Linked DNA regions of Homo sapiens: all the other regions are linked to region 5. The links are contacts of gene promoters, found by promoter capture Hi-C in blood cells and fetal thymus (Javierre and others, 2016). All regions are on one chromosome and are shown on one strand. Each heading gives the region's core, a stretch centred on a gene start or on the middle of the fragment in contact. The rest is flanking DNA. Distances are from core to core; before and after follow the strand shown. Region 1 overlaps B3GAT2 (beta-1,3-glucuronyltransferase 2). Region 2 has its middle 6.9 kb from the start of B3GAT2. Region 3 has its middle 38 kb from the start of B3GAT2. Region 4 has its middle 83 kb from the start of B3GAT2. Region 5 holds the start of COL9A1 (collagen type IX alpha 1 chain). Region 6 overlaps B3GAT2 (beta-1,3-glucuronyltransferase 2).

Region 1 (2,774 bases), core at 10-2,509, 630 kb after region 5:
ACTGCAAGCACTGTCAACCTACCCTCTTAACCTTTTTGTTTTTTAAATCCTAAAACAAAGGGGAAAAGCAAGACCAGAAAACATAAAAACCCCAAAACCTGTCTTATCAGTATACAAAGCAGGAAGCAAAGGTAGAGGCAAATAGTTAAATTCATTAAAGAAGAATGAAAAAAATTAAAATAAATTTTCATTAATGAAAAATGAAAATAATTAACAGTTAGTGCATGAGCCCCAAATACTCTGATGACTGTCATCAGAACTTTTCTGCAGAGCAAGGCTGCAGCTCCTCTGATAGAAAAGACTTCCCAAGAATGTCTCTAGCACTCTTGCCAGTGTGAACAGATGTAGCTGAGGAACTTATCAAAGTTATAAAAATCTTCCCAAACTGTCACTTGACCTTTAAAAATGATACTGGCATTTTCATCTTGCAATGCCAAGTTTATTTAGATGTAAAACAACACGTCCATATATGGACCATACGTAAATCTGCATTCCCATCAGCCAACAGAGCAGCACCTTGGGGCCGCTATGACTGTCAGGATTGGTACAGCCACAGTAGCTAGGTGGCTTTGTGACATCTTGTCTTCTGGAGCCTTCCACAGCTCCTGTTGCCCCAGACTTCTGAGAGACGTACAAATAGAGAGTGAAGTTACTCTGTTTACCCACTTTACGTACCTATTACCTCGTTTAATTCTCAGAACCATATGTATTATTATCAGGTCCTATGAGGGAGCTGGATATCAGGGCTTTTCCTCATTTGTAAAGCAGATGATGAAAATTAAACAGCAGCTCATGCACACATCTGAATGCCAAGGGTGGGACCCAGAACGCAGTAAAAAATGAAAAAAGCACTAGTCAGTTCCCTTGAGGTCATGGGAGCCTTTGGCTCAGTCAGGCCTAGAGGCCCCATCTTCCAAGTCCTTATACTCTTTCAACCAAAAGAGCAGTTTTTCAGACTGGGAGTGCATGATACCTGAATGCATACAACTCTCCATGGAATATGTGAATGCAGATAACTTTAAGTTAGGGAATAAATTCCCAGACCCTTGGCATCCCTACATACGGCATAAGCTTTCCTAAAACTGATCCACTTGGATAGGGGCAGGTTCTCCATGCTTCTCTCTCGCTCTGCCCCCCACCCCCGCCCCACCCCACTTCACATCACCCTTCTCCCACTTCACAAAGGGCCTGACTGCTCACCCATCCTGTATTGTTATTAAATGCACTGTCCCACCTAATATAACCTCCAGGGCACCAAACAAAGGTAATCAGAAATATTGCTATCTTTATTAAGAAAGCCAATGTCTCTAATGAATGGGTAATAAATCCTTTGGGGCAACCAGAGGTTTCTAACTATTTGCATTCAACAAAACTGGAGGTGACCTAATATCATTAATAAATCATTAAAATAGTTTTTGCTGTCAGATCACCATGTAATTTTTGGCTTAAAGCTTGAGAGTTCAAAAAACTGAGAAACACTGCTGTAAGAAAATGATTCCCACCTTAATTACTTCTTTACGTAAAAAAAAGTTGACCTAATAGGAATGAAATTTATACTAAATTCTATCTCTAGCAATCTGTAATATTTGTCAATACAGAATATATAATCAACAACAAAATGCTCCATCCATGTCACTAAGAAATCTAATAAATGTAGCTTTTATGTTTAATAGTTAATTACCCAACCCTGTAACATTTATTGTTGTTTTGATTAATTGTTTACCAATACTAATTGTAATGGTAAGTCAGTCCTGAAGCTTTTCTAAGACAGAGGCTGATAGCCACAGGATTATAAAACTTTAAATTCTATCTATATTCTTTTTGTCATTGTAGATATGTGTAATAGGGAGATGACTTTGAACCTCAAAATATTATGCTAAGATAAAATTCTGAGGAGGAATGAAGATAGAAAAAAAAAAGAGCAATATAAAATATCCAAACGTGGCCAGGTGTGGTGGCTCACACCAGTAATACCAGTACTTTGGAAAGATGAGGCGGTAGGACTGCTTGAAGCCAGGAGCTTGAGACCAGCCAGGGAAACATAGGAGGACCCTGTCTCTACCAAAAAAAAATAAAAATAAAAATTAGCCAGGTATGGTGGCATGTGCCTGTAGTCCCAGCTACTCAGGAGGGTGAGGCAGGAGAATTGCTTGACCCAGGGAGGTGGAGGCTGCAGTAAGCTGTGATCGCACCACTACACTCCAGTCTGGGCAACAGAGAGAGACCCTGTCTCACTTAAAAATATATATATGTGTATATATATATCTCCATCCAAATGTCATTGAAAAGTATGTTTATTAAATGAATGGTGGTGGGTATCAAACTGTTAACAATATTTATAGATCTACTGGATATATTTAAATTTCATTACAAATGTCAACATTTATAATGCACTGGAAATCAAAAGTTTTGCAACAGTTTAAAATGATTTTTAAAATGTAAGTGAAGGAGAAATAAAATACTCTACAGACAAGCAAATGCTGAGAGAATTTGTCACCACCAGGCCTGCCTTACAAGAGCTCCTGAAGGAAGCACTAAACATGGAAAGGCACAACCGGTACCAGCCACTGCAAAATCATGCCAAAACGTAAAGACCATCAAGGCTAGGAAGAAACTGCATCAACTAACGAGCAAAATAACCAGCTAACATCATAATGACAGGATCAAATTCACACATAACAATATTAACTTTAAATGTAAATGGACTAAATGCTCCAATTAAAAGACACAGACTGGCAAATTGGATAAAGAGTCAAGACCCATCAGTGTGCTGT
Region 2 (2,824 bases), core at 235-2,734, 660 kb after region 5:
AAACATTGATGGGTGGGATTTCAAATCCAGACTCTATGGTATGATTGACGGTACTCGAGAGGCCTAAGCAGTACTCGAGAGGCCTAAGCAGGCAACAGGCTTGACGGAGGAGACTAAAGAGAAGGCTTACTAAGTGAATACTGTCTTCCGTAACTGACATAACTTTCTGCCACGGGAAAACCTCCTTTCCCAGTAAATACTAGTTGAATCATCTAACCCCACTCTATGGCTTTTAAGGCCAGTGTAGTGCCAGTTGGGGTTTTGCCCAGATGTGTCACCCCCAACAGATTGGTACTGGCCACCGTAAGCCATATTGGTGGCCGTGGGCTCAGGCATCTCTGCAGCCAGATCAGAAACTGCTGTCACCATGCCTTTCCTCCACAAGAAGATAGTAGAAGCATTTACAGTCATTTTATCATGAAGCCATTTTACTATTTTAGATGAAATTTAAAAATTAATGTAGCTTTTCATCACATCTATCTGTAATTCACTCAAGGATACATCTTGATCAAGGATACAACCCCTGGGCAGGGTATAGTGGCTCACACCTGTAATTGAGGCCAGGAGTTTGACACCAGCCTAGGTAAATAGGAAGACCCTCTATCTACAAAACAAAACAAAACAAAACAAAACAAAACAAAACTAGCTGGGTGTGTTGGGGCATGGCTGTAGTCCCAGCTATTTGGGGGGCTGAGACAGGAGGATCGCTTGAGCCCAGGAGTTTGAGGCTATAATGAAATATGTGAAATATGATGGCATCACTGCACTCCAGCCTGGGTGACAGAGACCCTGTCTCAAGACAGTTTTTCTGTATGAAGATTGGTGAGGGTACAAATTTTAAAAATAAACTTTAGCGAAAGCAGGGTCTGCATCCAAACCATCTATGTTTACTTAAATAAAGATGTTCTTTCCAAATGGCTGTTGGTTTAGTTGGATGCCTTTTCTTGGATATGTTGAGTACAAATATTGGGAGCAAACAATATGAATATGGGGAGTGGGTATAAGATAAAGGCCATAGAAAGTTCCAGTTACTGACTAGCTCTTGGACAAGTCTCAGATCTCTGGTCTTCAGTTTTCTTGTATGTAGAATGAATGAGTGTAGGTGGTTTCTTGGTAAACTCCATAGGAAATGTACTTTGAATATTTTTCCAGTTCTGTTGATGGGTTTGCATTACACTATTAATATCATATTGTGTTACCAAATCTTATAACCAGTTGCATATTATCTAGTAGCTGCAGACATAATTAAAGAAGGTTTGTGTATCTTCATAAACAAGAAAGTATCTCCTGTCCACTCTCTCAAAAGTAAATCTAGTTCCTGTAGGTAAACACATGTTATATGAGCAACCTACCTCCAAAATATAATAATTAAAATAATGGAACATTGTCAATGTTTTAAGTTCCATTTTTGTCTAAATGTGGTAGTTCAGTGGCTTGAATTAATTTTTTTATTATTTTTATAACAGGTGCATTTATGAGCCTGCAGGTGGACCATTGAAATGACTACATTTATTAATTTCTGCTTCTTGAGTGCCAAGTTAAGTATGACTTGGCTTAGGCACATATTTGGTGTTCTATGTGAAATATAAATCTCTTAAAGTTAAAAGGGGGGTTGTTCCTTTATTCCTCTATCAATTTATAGCCCCAGCCTAGGAATTTAACCACACAAAGAGAAGGGTGGGATGCTTAATTTTATGTGTCAGCTTGACTGGGTTAAGGGATGCCCAGAAAAGGAGCCCATTAAGAAAGTTTGGTTCTGAAGCAGAAATAGCACGAGGTCTGAAAAATTGAGTCCATTATTTTTAAAGAAAAGTGCTTGGAATTCTACTCAAATAAAATGCAATTAAGCTAGCAAAATCATCATTCCCAAACTATAGTATGATTTCTAACAGTCACATTATAGCTAACCAAAAACAAAAGCCCTCAAATTCCAGATGAAATTCATATTCTAATATAACGTCCAGCAGCTAGGCCTCAGGGTGTCACTCTATATGGTCTGGTAGGCCTTGATTACTTAGAAAGTGGTGGTAATAAAACATAGAAACCTAAGTGTGCAAACGCTGTCCACCTGACATAGTTATTACAGTCTTTAGAAGTTACTTGAGATCCAGGTCAGTCTTGTCAAGAGAGTGGCAACATGGTACCTGGGAAAAAGAGTTGCATTGGAATCAGGAGACCTGAGTCCATATCCTAGGTATCCACTCACTGGTTACCTATCTAAACTTGTTTCCTCACCTGTCAAATAAATATAATGCTCCTATAACTAAGAGACACTGTATATGAATGATCATGAACCAGGGTCTGTTCAATGCACTGAACATACTTTAAAATACAATAACCCTGAAAAGTAGGTAGAGTAAGAAACTTTTCTAAGGTCACACAGCCAGTTAAATGTCAGAGACAGAATTTGAATCCAATCCTATTTTTTTATTCCAAAGCCAACATTCTTGCCACTATAACTGTCTTCCACAAATGTGAAAGAGTTGAATAGATAATAGATCTCTAAACATAAGTGACTTCGGCATTTAAAGTTGTTGTAATTAAATGAGTTGATACATGTAAAATCCTTAGAACAATAATCTATTAGTGCATTCTCATGCTGCTATGAAGAAATACATGAGACCTGGTAATTTATAAAGGAGAGAGGTTTAATTGACTCACATTTATGCATGGCCGGGGAGGCCTCAGGAAACTTAACAATCATGACAGAACAGGAAGCAAACATGTTCTTCTTCACATGGTTGCAGGAGAGAGAAGTGCAGAGTGAAGCAGGGAAAGTGCCTTATAAAACCATCAGATCTTGTGAGAATTCACTCACTATCAT
Region 3 (3,027 bases), core at 405-2,904, 690 kb after region 5:
GCGTGAACTCGGGAGGTGGAGGTTGCAGTGAGCTGACATCATGCCATTGCATTCCAGCCTGGCGACAGAGTCAGACTCCATCTCCAAAAAAAAAAAAAAAAAAAAAAAGGCTCAAAATACTGGAGGATGAAAGCAAGAGACTGAGAATTCTGTATGAGAGAATTTTTCTAACTCTCAAGGGGCTACATCACATTTATTTCAATTGAATAATGATATTGAACACTTAGCACTTGCTGAGTACCTTCCTCTTGAATATCACATTTTTATTTTTAAAGATGGAATTGAATTTTAGTTATTTCCAAGAGTACCCAAAGTCAATTCTTGTGCATATAGTTAATAATCAAGCTTGGGCAATTTTTTTTAGTCACTAAAAATCTTTTTTAGTCACACACATGCACACACAAGTATATATGCACTGTCTGACCACAATGAGACAAACTTTTGTGCCTTTCAAATTTTTTCTAAAGGCATTTCCAAAAATATTTTGAGCTTCAGCAGCACGATCTATCCTCTCCATGATGCCTACTTTGAAGGGTCTAAAATTCAATTGCATACATACATTCTGGTTTGTGGAGAAAAAAATCAATCTTATGCCTCCTATTACACCTATAGCTTACCTTTGTTACCAAAACACCAGGGGTTCGGTCTAGGGGTGCTCACACATAGAAAGCCAATCACTGAGTTAACAAGTATTGCCAGGGAAGAAGGCTTTAGTAAGGTGCTGCAGCTGAGGAAATGGAGATCAGTCTCAAATCCATCTTCCTGAATGACTAAAATTGGGGTTTATCTAGCAGGGAAGAAATGTAACCATGTATGGGAAAACAGGAATTAGAGGCGGCTAAGAAGAGAAGTTGGTCAACAGGAGGCAGGTGGGTGAGGGGTCTGCCACCTGTCTGGCATGACATTGTTCAGATGCAGTGATCTGGTGTGTTTCAGTTCCTTGATATTATCTGGAAAGCCTGATGGTTGGTTTTCTGAGAAAGGAATTCAGATAAGACAATTGTACCTTTCTCAAGTTTTAAGACTGGGAGGATCAATTTTTATGTTTATTCAGATAAACCATAAACATCAGTTCTATGGGACAATTAAGCTGGTTTTACCTTGAAGATAACTTTGAGTTCACATTTATGATGCCACAGAAGACTCAAGGGCCAGAGTCACTGTAATGTGGGCTTGTCATAGCTAGTCAGCCTTCATTTTTGAAATCACATTACAGTTGAAAAATTGGGGATGATGTTATAATAGTATAAATAAGAAATAAATGAATCTTTCTGCTTTGGCATAAAAGTGAGAGATCAAACTGTGTCAGAATTTTATTTCATTTTTTCCTGTGGCTGCTGTATTTCTATGTAAGAGAGTCATTAAGTCCAGTGAACTCTCAAGGAGAGGGGAATTAAGCTCTACTGCTTGAAGGGAAAAGTATACAAATTTTTTAAATGTGTTTTTAATTACTACAGGTAGTGGCAGTGGTGTCAGGAGCTGGCCAGCTTTTTCTTGTTTCCCTAATGGAAAGTTGAGGGTGGATCTCTGTGTTTCTGGACCCTGAAATTCCAAGGTCATAGGTAGACTGGTGGCAGTATTTCTAGAGGCTGGCCCTACAGAGTCGTGGATGAAGAACTGTATTCTTTATGTTGCTCAAGCTGGCCTCAAATTCCTGGGCTCAAAGGATCCTCCTCCCTCAGCCTCCTGAGTAGCTGGGACAACAAGCATGTGCCACCCACTGCACCCCACTCTATTTTATTTTTGAGAAGGGTTGCTAAGAAAGAATTTGAATGAGAAAGAAGAAACTCACATAGCTCTAGGCTGTCCACTGATGTTATAAAGTACTTTCATTCCCAGAGACACACCTTCTTGTGTTCTCTCTGAATGCTCCCTTTTTTATATTAAACCATTGCCCTACACAGTCAAGCTGCTAATTTCTACCCTTAAACACTCGAAATTGCCAGTTAATCAAGTTAAATCCTTGGTCACAGAGAAGCTACTTTATCTTAGTGTTTGACTGAAAATTTATCTGCATTTCAATAATACTGCATGTCACATTGAATAAAAATAGCACTTTTAAAAACGCCTTCTTCAAAGTAGTAGGTTGTCTAGCAGTCTAGTTTTTAGCAGTGAAACTTAGAATGACTTGCTTGGCAGTGGCTTCTGGAGAGCAGTTTCTTCGTGGGTTAAATGAAGATAAGAATATCTTCCTGACCTATCTCAAAAGTTTAATATGGGGCTCATAAGAGATAATAAGTGAGTTAAATATAAAATGCTACAAAATTTGCAAATGGTGAGTTGGAAATAGCTTTAGATGTCCAAACTCTCCATTTTAAACATAGAAAGTGACACCCAGAAAAGTGTCAAGAAAAACAGGGACAAGTGCCAGGAATTTCCTGAACTGGCTGCATTGATGAATGCCAACACAACTTTCACATTTTCACATTTCCAGCTGGAAGTAGCTGAGAGACATGAAGAACCAATAATTATGTGAGTCTTCCTAGTTCATACACAGATATTCTACAAAGTCATTGTTGTTAAATTCACTTACAAAAAATAGAATAGTCTTTAATTAAAAAAAATAAAGGCCATAATAAAATAATATTGCCATAGTTTTCTTACCTTTAGTGTCTTCATGCAATACCTGTAGTGTTCTTTGCTCCATTTTTTGAGCCCATCCTTGAAATTTCTTTTTATATTGTCATTGTACTTCTTCAACCATTGTATTGCTTTAACCAGAGAAGTATGGCCTGGTGGAATGCAGGCATTGTTACTATCTCTTGACATATAACATTTTCTAATACAGATTTCATAGATTTGGAATAGTTGAACTTTTCTGCTAAGTTACATCTTTACATTGACTCTACTCCTTAGTTTTGGTGCTCATTCCTGTGAGTACTTCGGTTATGTAACATTTTTCTCTGACATGGAAATCAGCAAACAGGCATGCTATGGCCAAAGGTAAAGCATCACAATAATGAAGAAGCTTACATAAAGGGAACATTGATGAATGCAGCAGCATGTGTTTGTGATTAAATCAAAGGC
Region 4 (2,972 bases), core at 360-2,859, 740 kb after region 5:
CGGGGGCGTAGTCTTAGAGGGAGGATGGAGAGGGTTCAGGATGGTAGAGCCAGAAGGCAGGAGCCTCAAAGGAACCTGCATAAAATTTTATTCAATACGGATGAATCATGGTCTGGGAGAGACACTGGAGCAAAAACAAAATCCCCACCCTATCTTCTGAACCCAAGGCACATGCGATGTTGGAAAGTGAGCAGCTTGTACTCAAGGAATCTCCCAGGGCAGGGTGATTACTTCCTTGGGAAAAATCCAGGCACTTCTGAGTGCCAGGAAATAAAGAGCATATTCATTAAGTGATTGAGGATGGAGGAGTATTGGTTAACATGTAATGTGATATACAAGTTAATGTAACGCACAGCAGCACTTAAAAACTCTGACCAGCTCATGTTAAGCTTGATGATGTAATGATAACAATGCAGTTTCTGGATGTCGCATGTGTGCCCAGGTGGTAGGAGTGCTGCAGTATAGCTCAGTAGTATCTAGCTCCTGGGCTTCCTGGAGAAAGTTGAGCTGTATAGCTACCTCGGTAATTTTAGTAATGGGCTAATTTTAGTTAGATTGTAAATATTAAATTTTAGGAATCTTCAATAACTGATTTAGCAAGTTACTGTTAAGTAATTTTAGGAGTATATAAAAATGAAGGTCTGTGGAATTGCTTGTCAGTTTTTTGTCTTAGAATTAAAGCAAGGACCTGCAGTAGGGAAACGATTTGAAGACTCTCAGGAGGTCTTTTGTAATTCACAGGAATTCTCCAGACTGATATTCTCTCATTAATTTTCATTCTGTTGCTTTGGTACTTAACCAGTTACAAGTCACAAAATTGTGTTTATGCCTATTCCTCATTTCTCCATCTTGTCCACAAATATGTCATGAGAGACTTGGTTAAGGTTTCCCTAGGCACCACTGGCTTAAGCCAATGTATTAATAACAACTAATATTTATTAATCACTTTACATGGATAATTCTCAATTAATCTTCTGAACACCCCTATTAGGAAGGCAGTTTGACTATCTCCATCTTATGGATGAATAAAACTTGTGCACATCAGAACTAATAAGCAGAGGAGCAGGGATTCAGTCCCAGTCAGAAGGACTCCAGAAACCTGTAGCCCACGCTGCTGAATAGCTAAGTTAATAGCTAATAGTCAAGTTAACAGGTTTGTCCACAAATCTAAGGGAGTAAAAATGAGTCTGTGGGTCTTCACAACATTGACAGAAGAAAAGGCACTCTGTTTTCTTAAGCTGAAGGGCACCCAATTTGAGCTTCATGCACCAGCGCTGATTGCTCCATTGTCTGCAGCTTGGCTCAGCAGCTGCATAGCTCCTTGGGCTGTGGTGGCTCCTGCAGTCTCTGCCTGTGCTGCTTCTCTCCCTGCAGTGTGGTTGGCATCCTGATCCCTGTGTGCCCCAAGGCCAGGGCACTGGTACTGACATCCCCATTCTGTAAGACTCCTGCAGCATCTCCTCTGAGCTGGGAGAGTGGGGCACCCTCCTGGGTTCACATGGTCTCTTCTTCACAAAGGGAGTTGTTCTTATCCTCCTTTCCTCCAGGGCTAAGGTTTCTCTTGTCTTCCCTGCCACTTCCACTTGTACTAGTTGCCGGGAGAGGTGTCAGAGCCCTGGTATTGGGAAGTGGTTGACGCGCAGGTTGGTAAAAAGAATTTACCGACAACAGAATAGGTTTGAAAAGGAAAGTTATTAGAAAGGAAGAATGCTGCAAGAGGGTGCAGTAGAGCGCTTTGGCAAGAGGACTGAATGCACCGCAGTGGATTTTTCCTTAGTGGTATTTATGGACCTTAAGGCAGGAGCTTAGGGTTGTAAAATGAGTTTCAGCGTGACATTCCAGAGATGTATAGAAATTTTAGTTACTTTTAAACTAAAAGTTGAAAGAGGCCTGGAACCACATGCTGACTTTAGAAACTAGGGAAATTTGATTGCTTCTAAATTCCCAGATAAGGAGTTTTGCCTCTGGATGGTCTGTTTGATGGTCACCAGGTGGTCTTTGTTCCCTTCTAAATTCCCAGATAAGGAGTTTTGCCTCCAGATGATCTGTTTGATGGTCACCAGGTGGTCTTGGCTCTCCTCACTAGTGTCCCTCTTGTCCCTGACTTTCTTAGTTCCTATTTCTCTTTGCTCTTTACCCCACACTTAGATTCATCCGTCCTGTCTCTGGGGACCCTTGTAATTACACAGATACAAGATTTGTTCTATATATTCTTTCCTTATCAGTCTAGTAACCCAATTTGCACAGGACATATGGCCAGCCAGTTTACACTTGTTCTTATTATGACTCCGTACTACTTCCTAGCCATTTGGACTTCCTTTCCTAAGCCTTCCCAAATCATCTATTTACAGTTTATAGGACAAATGTCTACAGTTTATAGGATAAATGTCTGCAGTTTATAGGATTTCCAGTTTTGACAAAAATTAAATCAATATTTGCCTATATTCAGGCGTCCAGCCAGGGAGTGAATCAAGGACTTCACCTGCAGGTGTTGCCACTTTCTGGGATGTAATTAATTAAGGTCCAAGACTTAACCCCATCTAGAGAAGGTAGCGTTATAGGTAGTTAGGCATGAGTGGGGCAGGAGAGGGCTCTCTCCCTCACCCACTAGAAATGTTGGGTGATGGTTGGGCAATTATTGCTTTGCCTCTCTAAAAATAATAATTCAGCAGCACAAGGGAGAGGCCATTTCCTGATGGTCCACGCCTATCAACATCAAAACATTAATTGAATGCAGTCCCAGGGAGAAGCAACTTCCTGGGCATCCTGTTAAGAGACAAAAATGGTGAAGTATAATCTTCTGGGGGCACACTCCACTGAAAAAGGGAAGAAAGCTTCAGATGGTGATGCGTATAGCTCCCTAAACACATGGCGTGTGCTCAATTCCAGAGGGTAAGGAAAGCACTGGGCATGCAGAAAGCCCACCTTAGAGAAAGATGTGAACCCCCAAAATTTGAGACAGGTCTCAGTGA
Region 5 (2,700 bases), core at 136-2,635:
CATTCATCCATGTATTCACCCAACATTTACCAATCACCATCTGTACTAGGCACTGCACTAGGCACTGCAGCTCACAGATTGGCCTTCCTACCAACTGTGATTACTGACAGGACTTACTTTCCATACCCAGCATTGACCATGGAAAACCAGAACCTAATGTATCCCTGTGCCCCAAAGCTGGATTGAAGAGTGAGGGTGTGAAGGACTATGAATGCCTCACTCAGTCTTCAGTCAGCCACAGCCCTGCCTGATCATTTCTGGGAATAAGTGATCTTTGAAAGTCTAGAAACTATGGCCCTTACTGGGGCGACGCTTGACAGCTGCAGATGCCCAGGGTTCCAGGAAACTGCACACAAAGAAGAAAACTGGAATTTTCCTGAAGAAGAGAGAAGAAAAATGACTGAAACAGGAGTCCCCGCAGATGGAAAACACTTCCATATTTTCAAACCTAGTAAACCTAATTAATGTAAGGTGATCAAATCACAGTATAGTTTTTTTTTCATTTCTTTTTTTTTTTTTTTTTTTTTTTGAGACGGAGTCTCGCTCTGTCACCCAGGCTGGAGTGCAATGGCGCGATCTCGGCTCTTTGCAACCTCCACCTCCTGGGTTCAAACGATTCTCCTGCCTCAGCCTCCTGAGTAACTGGGATTACAGGCACGTGCCACCACACCCAGTTACTTTTTCTATTTTTAGTGGAGACAGGGTTTCACCATGGTGGTCAGTCTGGTCTTGAACTCCTGACCTCGTGATTCGCCCGCCTCGGCCTCCCAAAGTGCTGGGATTACAAGCATAAGCCACCGCACCCAGCCTTCATTTTTACTTTGAAACCCTACTGAGAGATGTAAGGAACTCATGTTTCCAGACCCCACTGTCGTTGTTGTTTTATTGATCTCACCTTCTCGGTATCTACCTATCTCACTGTTTTGGTACCTATTTCTTTGTCTCTGGTTTCTTTCACCTTTGATTTCCTTCCTCTCTTTTTCTGTGGCCGTCACTTTCTCTCCCTTCCTCTGTCTGTCTTCGGTTTTTTGTGTCTGTCTTCGGTTTCTCACGCTTGCCCTCTTGTCTTACTCTCTCATCCGTCTCTCTTTCTGTCTCTCACCTTGAGGCTCACCTACTCTCATCTTACCACTGCTGCAAAAATACAGACCCTTGGTTCTGAGGACCCCCAGCTCCATCTCCCCACCACTCTTTCCAGGGTTATTGTCTTACCAGCAGGTCTTCATTTTCCCAGTTGATTTTCTTTGTTTGCCAACAGTCCCTATGAAGAAGGGGTTGGAAGGGAGTCACTGTCCCCTCACGACCCCTTCACTGTTACCCTAGGACTATGTGTTCTGGGCCCAGCCTTGGTCCCTCCTGCCCCCGGTGAGGGCTAAAAGCAAAGGGAGAGAACCAGAGGCATCTCGTGACACTTTAAACTGAAGCAAAGGAAAGGGGTGGGGAGAAGCAGCGCTCTGAGCCCAGGCCTAGGGGTGTGTCCTCAAAGCTAACAAGGTTATACTGAAGGAGGGATTTACAGGGGAAAGTTTGCTGAAAAGAAAAAAATAAAATCAGGATGTGGGGAAATTCACCAGAAAGATCCAGGCAAGGTGCTATAGGAACACAGTAGATGCTTTTAGATCTGCTATAGGAGTACAATGGCAGCTTTCAGAACTGCTATAGGAATACAGTGGAAGCTTTCAGAGGGCTGAGGTTCCAGTAAAAATGTGCCCACTGGGAGGCAGAGGTGTGGAAACTCGTGGGAGCCTTGGTGCCCGATCAACCTAAGTTTCAATCCCTGTTTATTCTGAAGCTTACTAGCTGTGTGTCCTTGAGAGAGTTACTTCACCTTTCTGTAACTAGATGCCCTAACTGTAAAACAGATTGAAAATGCTTACATTAAAACAATGGTTTTGAGAATTAAATGAGGTATCAAAGGCAGAGGGTCTAACACCCAACAATCATTATTTGTCATCGTCTTCATAGCTAACGCTTCATTATGCACCTCCGTCTGTTGAAAATGCTCAAAGCTTAATGCCATTTAATTCTCACAACAACATTATAAGGTAAGACTGAAGTTACCCTTATTCTCCAAATAAGAAAGTTGAGGAAGCAGAAAATGAAGTAACTTTTTCAAAGTGCCATGCCTATTACTAAATACACATTCCCTCTCTCTACCTCATGGATAGAAATCCTGATAAAATGTAACATCAAGCCCCCTACTTGTTGTTTATTCTTAAACTCTGAGACTACCAGAGTTGAGCAGAGGACACTGTATCTGGAAAGAAGCAACATATTATCCTCCGTTAACAAGGTGAGAGCAAATTACAAGGAGCACAAACCTAGAGAGAGGCATGTTATCAGCATCGCTACCACACATGCCATGCCGTCTCTCCAGAACCTGAGCACCTAAAGAGAATTCCCTATAGCCCCCACATCACCCCCGTTACCACCCACTCAGCATGGCCAACCTCTGGCCTTGTCTTGAGGGACACGGGTGGTTACTCCAAAAACCAAGACTCTAAAGGTCAGAAGATCCAATGATCTCAAAAATCACAGTACAAGCAAAGTAATTTTTAGGTGAACTTTTTTTTTTTAAGAGACAGGGTCTCAGGTCTCGCTCTGTCCCCCAAGCTGGAGTACAGTGGCATAATCATAGCTCACTACAGCCTTGAACTTCTGGGCTCAGGGGATTCTCCCACCTCAGCCTCCTGAGTAACT
Region 6 (2,700 bases), core at 134-2,633, 600 kb after region 5:
TGTTTATTGAAAATACAAATATAATTGCCAATGACTATGTTAATCTTTATCTGGATATCAAAAGGAAAACTTAATACAAAATTAAATTATACTTAGGTTTGCACAAAACTGCTGCAGATTAGCATGTCTAATGTACTCCGATAACCTACGTTTTTGCCCCTTTTAAAATTGGATTATTTGCTACATATATTCCCCAAAATGGGTTTCAAGGGTCCCGAGTTCTTTAATGGCAGACAGCATGTTGCTCGCCTCTGTGGCAGTGTGTCCAACAGGTAACAGAAGGTTTGTGTAGCTGTATAGTCCACTTGGCATGGGGATCTGCAGCTTTTTGTAACATAGGATAGCTGGTATCATTATCCACTAGTCTTTTCATGTAATAGGCAAACTCAGATACAAAGGAGCTACTCTACATCTCAAAAAAGGAATAAATTAACATAACTGACTTGAAAGCATAATAATACTTTTTCTTCTTAAAAAAATATGGTCCCGGAATGTCTCCTGGCACTGTGTGTGTGTGTGTGTGTATGTGTGTGTGTGTGCAGTGTGTGTAGAGAGAGAGGGACTGGGGCATGTATTGGATTGTTCAACTATTTATCTTCACTACATAAAAGGGAGCTGAGTTCACTACAGGAATGGTTGCCTTGGCCACACTCAATCTATTTTCCCAAATGAGTTCTAACCCAAAGACCTCTGCTCTAGTTTACTTAATACCATGATAATGTGAGGAAATTTAAACTGCTTCATTTCTCTTTCTTAATTTTTCCACACGAAAACCAACGATCTATCTCCTATTCTTCTCACGGAGAATGGGGGAAAAGAAGTCTCTAAAGCACTTAGACATTCTTAAAAGATGTTATTAACCATGCAGTTTCAAAATTAGGTACTATTCCAGCACATTACAGTGATCGTACACCCCTATACTCTACCACGACCACACACATACCTAGAGCATTCTCTCATAGCAATTTTTTTTTAAGACAGAGTCTCACTCTGTCACCCAGACTGGAGTTCAGTGGCATGATCACAGCTCACTGCAAGCTTGACCTCCTCCTGGGCTCAAGCAATCCTCCTGCCTCAGCCTCCCAGCTAGCTGGGGACTGCAGGCGTGCACCACCACTCTCAGCTAATTTTTTATTTTTTGTAGATACAGGGCTTTACTAGATTTCCCAGGCTGGTCTCAAACTCCTGGGCTCAAGCAATCCTCCTGCCTTGGCCACCTAAAGTGCTGATTATAGGCATGAGCCACTGCACCCAGCCTTATAGCAAGTTTTGAGAAAAGCACACACTCCTACTTTTTCCTCATGCAAGGAAATGTAACCTCTCTTTTCACAGAAATGAAATACAGTATTCTTTGCTTTCTTATTCTTTAATCCGATCCCCTGCTCCACTTAAGATCCTTCCACCTCTGGGTTTCTCAGTCTCTAATTAACATCTAATACTGCTTGAAAAAAGAATTTAAGGCAATTACACAGACACATAGATAAAAGAAAACTGAACAAAGGTGAGTGAAAAATCAATGACAATCCTATACACAAGCAACTATCATGGAAACAGCATTACAATAGCAAAAGAAAATATGCAATGCTAGGCATCAACTTACTGAGAATGGTGCAGGAACATGATGAAAACCACAAACTTTACCATGAAACCTCAGCGAGTCCAGGGATGGGCTATAGCAGATACTGTTCGTTGCCTACTCAACATCTACTTTCTTCTCTTCCTTATTGGCTAAGCTTCATTTTGGTTCAAATGGTAACCAGCCCTTCCCCCACATGACTGCCAAGAGGGTGATGGTCTCTCAATGCCAGGGATAAATCTTGAGTTGTCAGTGATTAGTTTGGGCCTGGCAGTCCTGGCCATCAGAGGAAGTGTGCTGGGCTGCTTCTGGGAAAAGTGCCCTCACTCCTAAGGATGGTCCCTTTCTGTCCCAGCACATTGCCATGTCTGGTTGTGATGGCTGAACTACAGCAGCCACCTTGCAACCAGGAAGAGAACCAGCCTGAAGACAAAGCTGACATTGTGAGGACGGCAGGGTGGAGAGCATTGGAAAGACTTCAGGACGGTGATGACACCACTGAGTCACTAAGTCATCCATCCCTAAAACCTGCTGTATATCTGGACTTCCTGTTATGGAATGTGGCTTCTTGCTCAACACTTTTCCTCTTCCTAAGTTCACAGGAAGACTCCATGTTTCTGCATCCTTTGCAGTTAGGATGGGGTCATATGACTGATGACGGATTTATGCACACTGGAGCATGGGCAAAATTCATATAAGTCAATTTCCAGCCTGGTCCTTAAAAACAATCTATGTGATCCACCAGTCCTCTTCCCTTGCAGGGGTGACTTTACAAGTCATGTGTTGCTTATAAAGCGACATATCTGAGTCACTAACTGCCCAGGAGAGTCACCAACCCCTGGCAAACTTTGTGAGACCAAGCAATAAGCTTTTACTGTATCAAGCCTCTCAGTAGTCAGGGTTTGCCTCTGCAGCTGCCAATATTTAGTTATTCTGCTAATATAGTGAGATAATATATGTGCTTAGCGTTGAAGCCAGTTTGAGTTGGGGTTTTTGTCACCTGTACCCAAAAGCTTCCTATTTGGCACACTTTCCATTCTGTTGGACCAGAAGTTTCAACAATATACAAGATTCTTCATATTAATGCCCAAACCTTGCTGACAATATCTCCCTGGCATGTAGCT

Evidence for each region. Contacts are between HindIII fragments. The CHiCAGO score rates a contact against its expected background, and 5 or more counts as called.
Region 1: a contact is called between a fragment that was not itself captured here and the fragment with the promoter of COL9A1 in region 5, in 1 of 17 cell types (endothelial precursors). The highest score is 5.3, in endothelial precursors.
Region 2: a fragment that was not itself captured here is called in contact with the fragment with the promoter of COL9A1 in region 5 in 3 of 17 cell types (M2 macrophages, endothelial precursors and naive CD8 T cells); the score reaches 5.6 in M2 macrophages.
Region 3: a fragment that was not itself captured here is called in contact with the fragment with the promoter of COL9A1 in region 5 in 5 of 17 cell types (endothelial precursors, M2 macrophages, M1 macrophages and 2 more); the score reaches 9.6 in endothelial precursors.
Region 4: a contact is called between a fragment that was not itself captured here and the fragment with the promoter of COL9A1 in region 5, in 1 of 17 cell types (M2 macrophages). The highest score is 7.3, in M2 macrophages.
Region 6: a fragment that was not itself captured here is called in contact with the fragment with the promoter of COL9A1 in region 5 in 1 of 17 cell types (endothelial precursors); the score reaches 5.3 in endothelial precursors.

Annotation. Positions count from the first base shown.
Region 1 is chr6:70,933,221-70,935,994 of GRCh38, forward strand. The region is part of intron 1 of B3GAT2 (beta-1,3-glucuronyltransferase 2); the gene reads right to left. Among named protein-coding and RNA genes, the nearest start is that of B3GAT2, 22 kb to the right of the region's middle. The HindIII fragment of the contact is 380 bases long and covers 1,070-1,449 here.
Region 2 is chr6:70,962,567-70,965,390 of GRCh38, forward strand. No RefSeq gene overlaps it. Among named protein-coding and RNA genes, the nearest start is that of B3GAT2, 6.9 kb to the left of the region's middle. The HindIII fragment of the contact is 2,992 bases long and covers 1-2,824 here.
Region 3 is chr6:70,993,232-70,996,258 of GRCh38, forward strand. No RefSeq gene overlaps it. Among named protein-coding and RNA genes, the nearest start is that of B3GAT2, 38 kb to the left of the region's middle. The HindIII fragment of the contact is 2,623 bases long and covers 344-2,966 here.
Region 4 is chr6:71,038,892-71,041,863 of GRCh38, forward strand. No RefSeq gene overlaps it. Among named protein-coding and RNA genes, the nearest start is that of B3GAT2, 83 kb to the left of the region's middle. The HindIII fragment of the contact is 2,445 bases long and covers 388-2,832 here.
Region 5 is chr6:70,301,699-70,304,398 of GRCh38, forward strand. COL9A1 (collagen type IX alpha 1 chain) reads right to left here and starts at 1,386. Exons shown (of 38, transcript NM_001851.6): 1 at 1,213-1,386; 2 at 303-376. The coding sequence starts at 1,226. The HindIII fragment of the contact is 4,602 bases long and covers 1-1,674 here.
Region 6 is chr6:70,905,381-70,908,080 of GRCh38, forward strand. The region is part of intron 1 of B3GAT2 (beta-1,3-glucuronyltransferase 2); the gene reads right to left. Among named protein-coding and RNA genes, the nearest start is that of B3GAT2, 50 kb to the right of the region's middle. The HindIII fragment of the contact is 695 bases long and covers 1,037-1,731 here.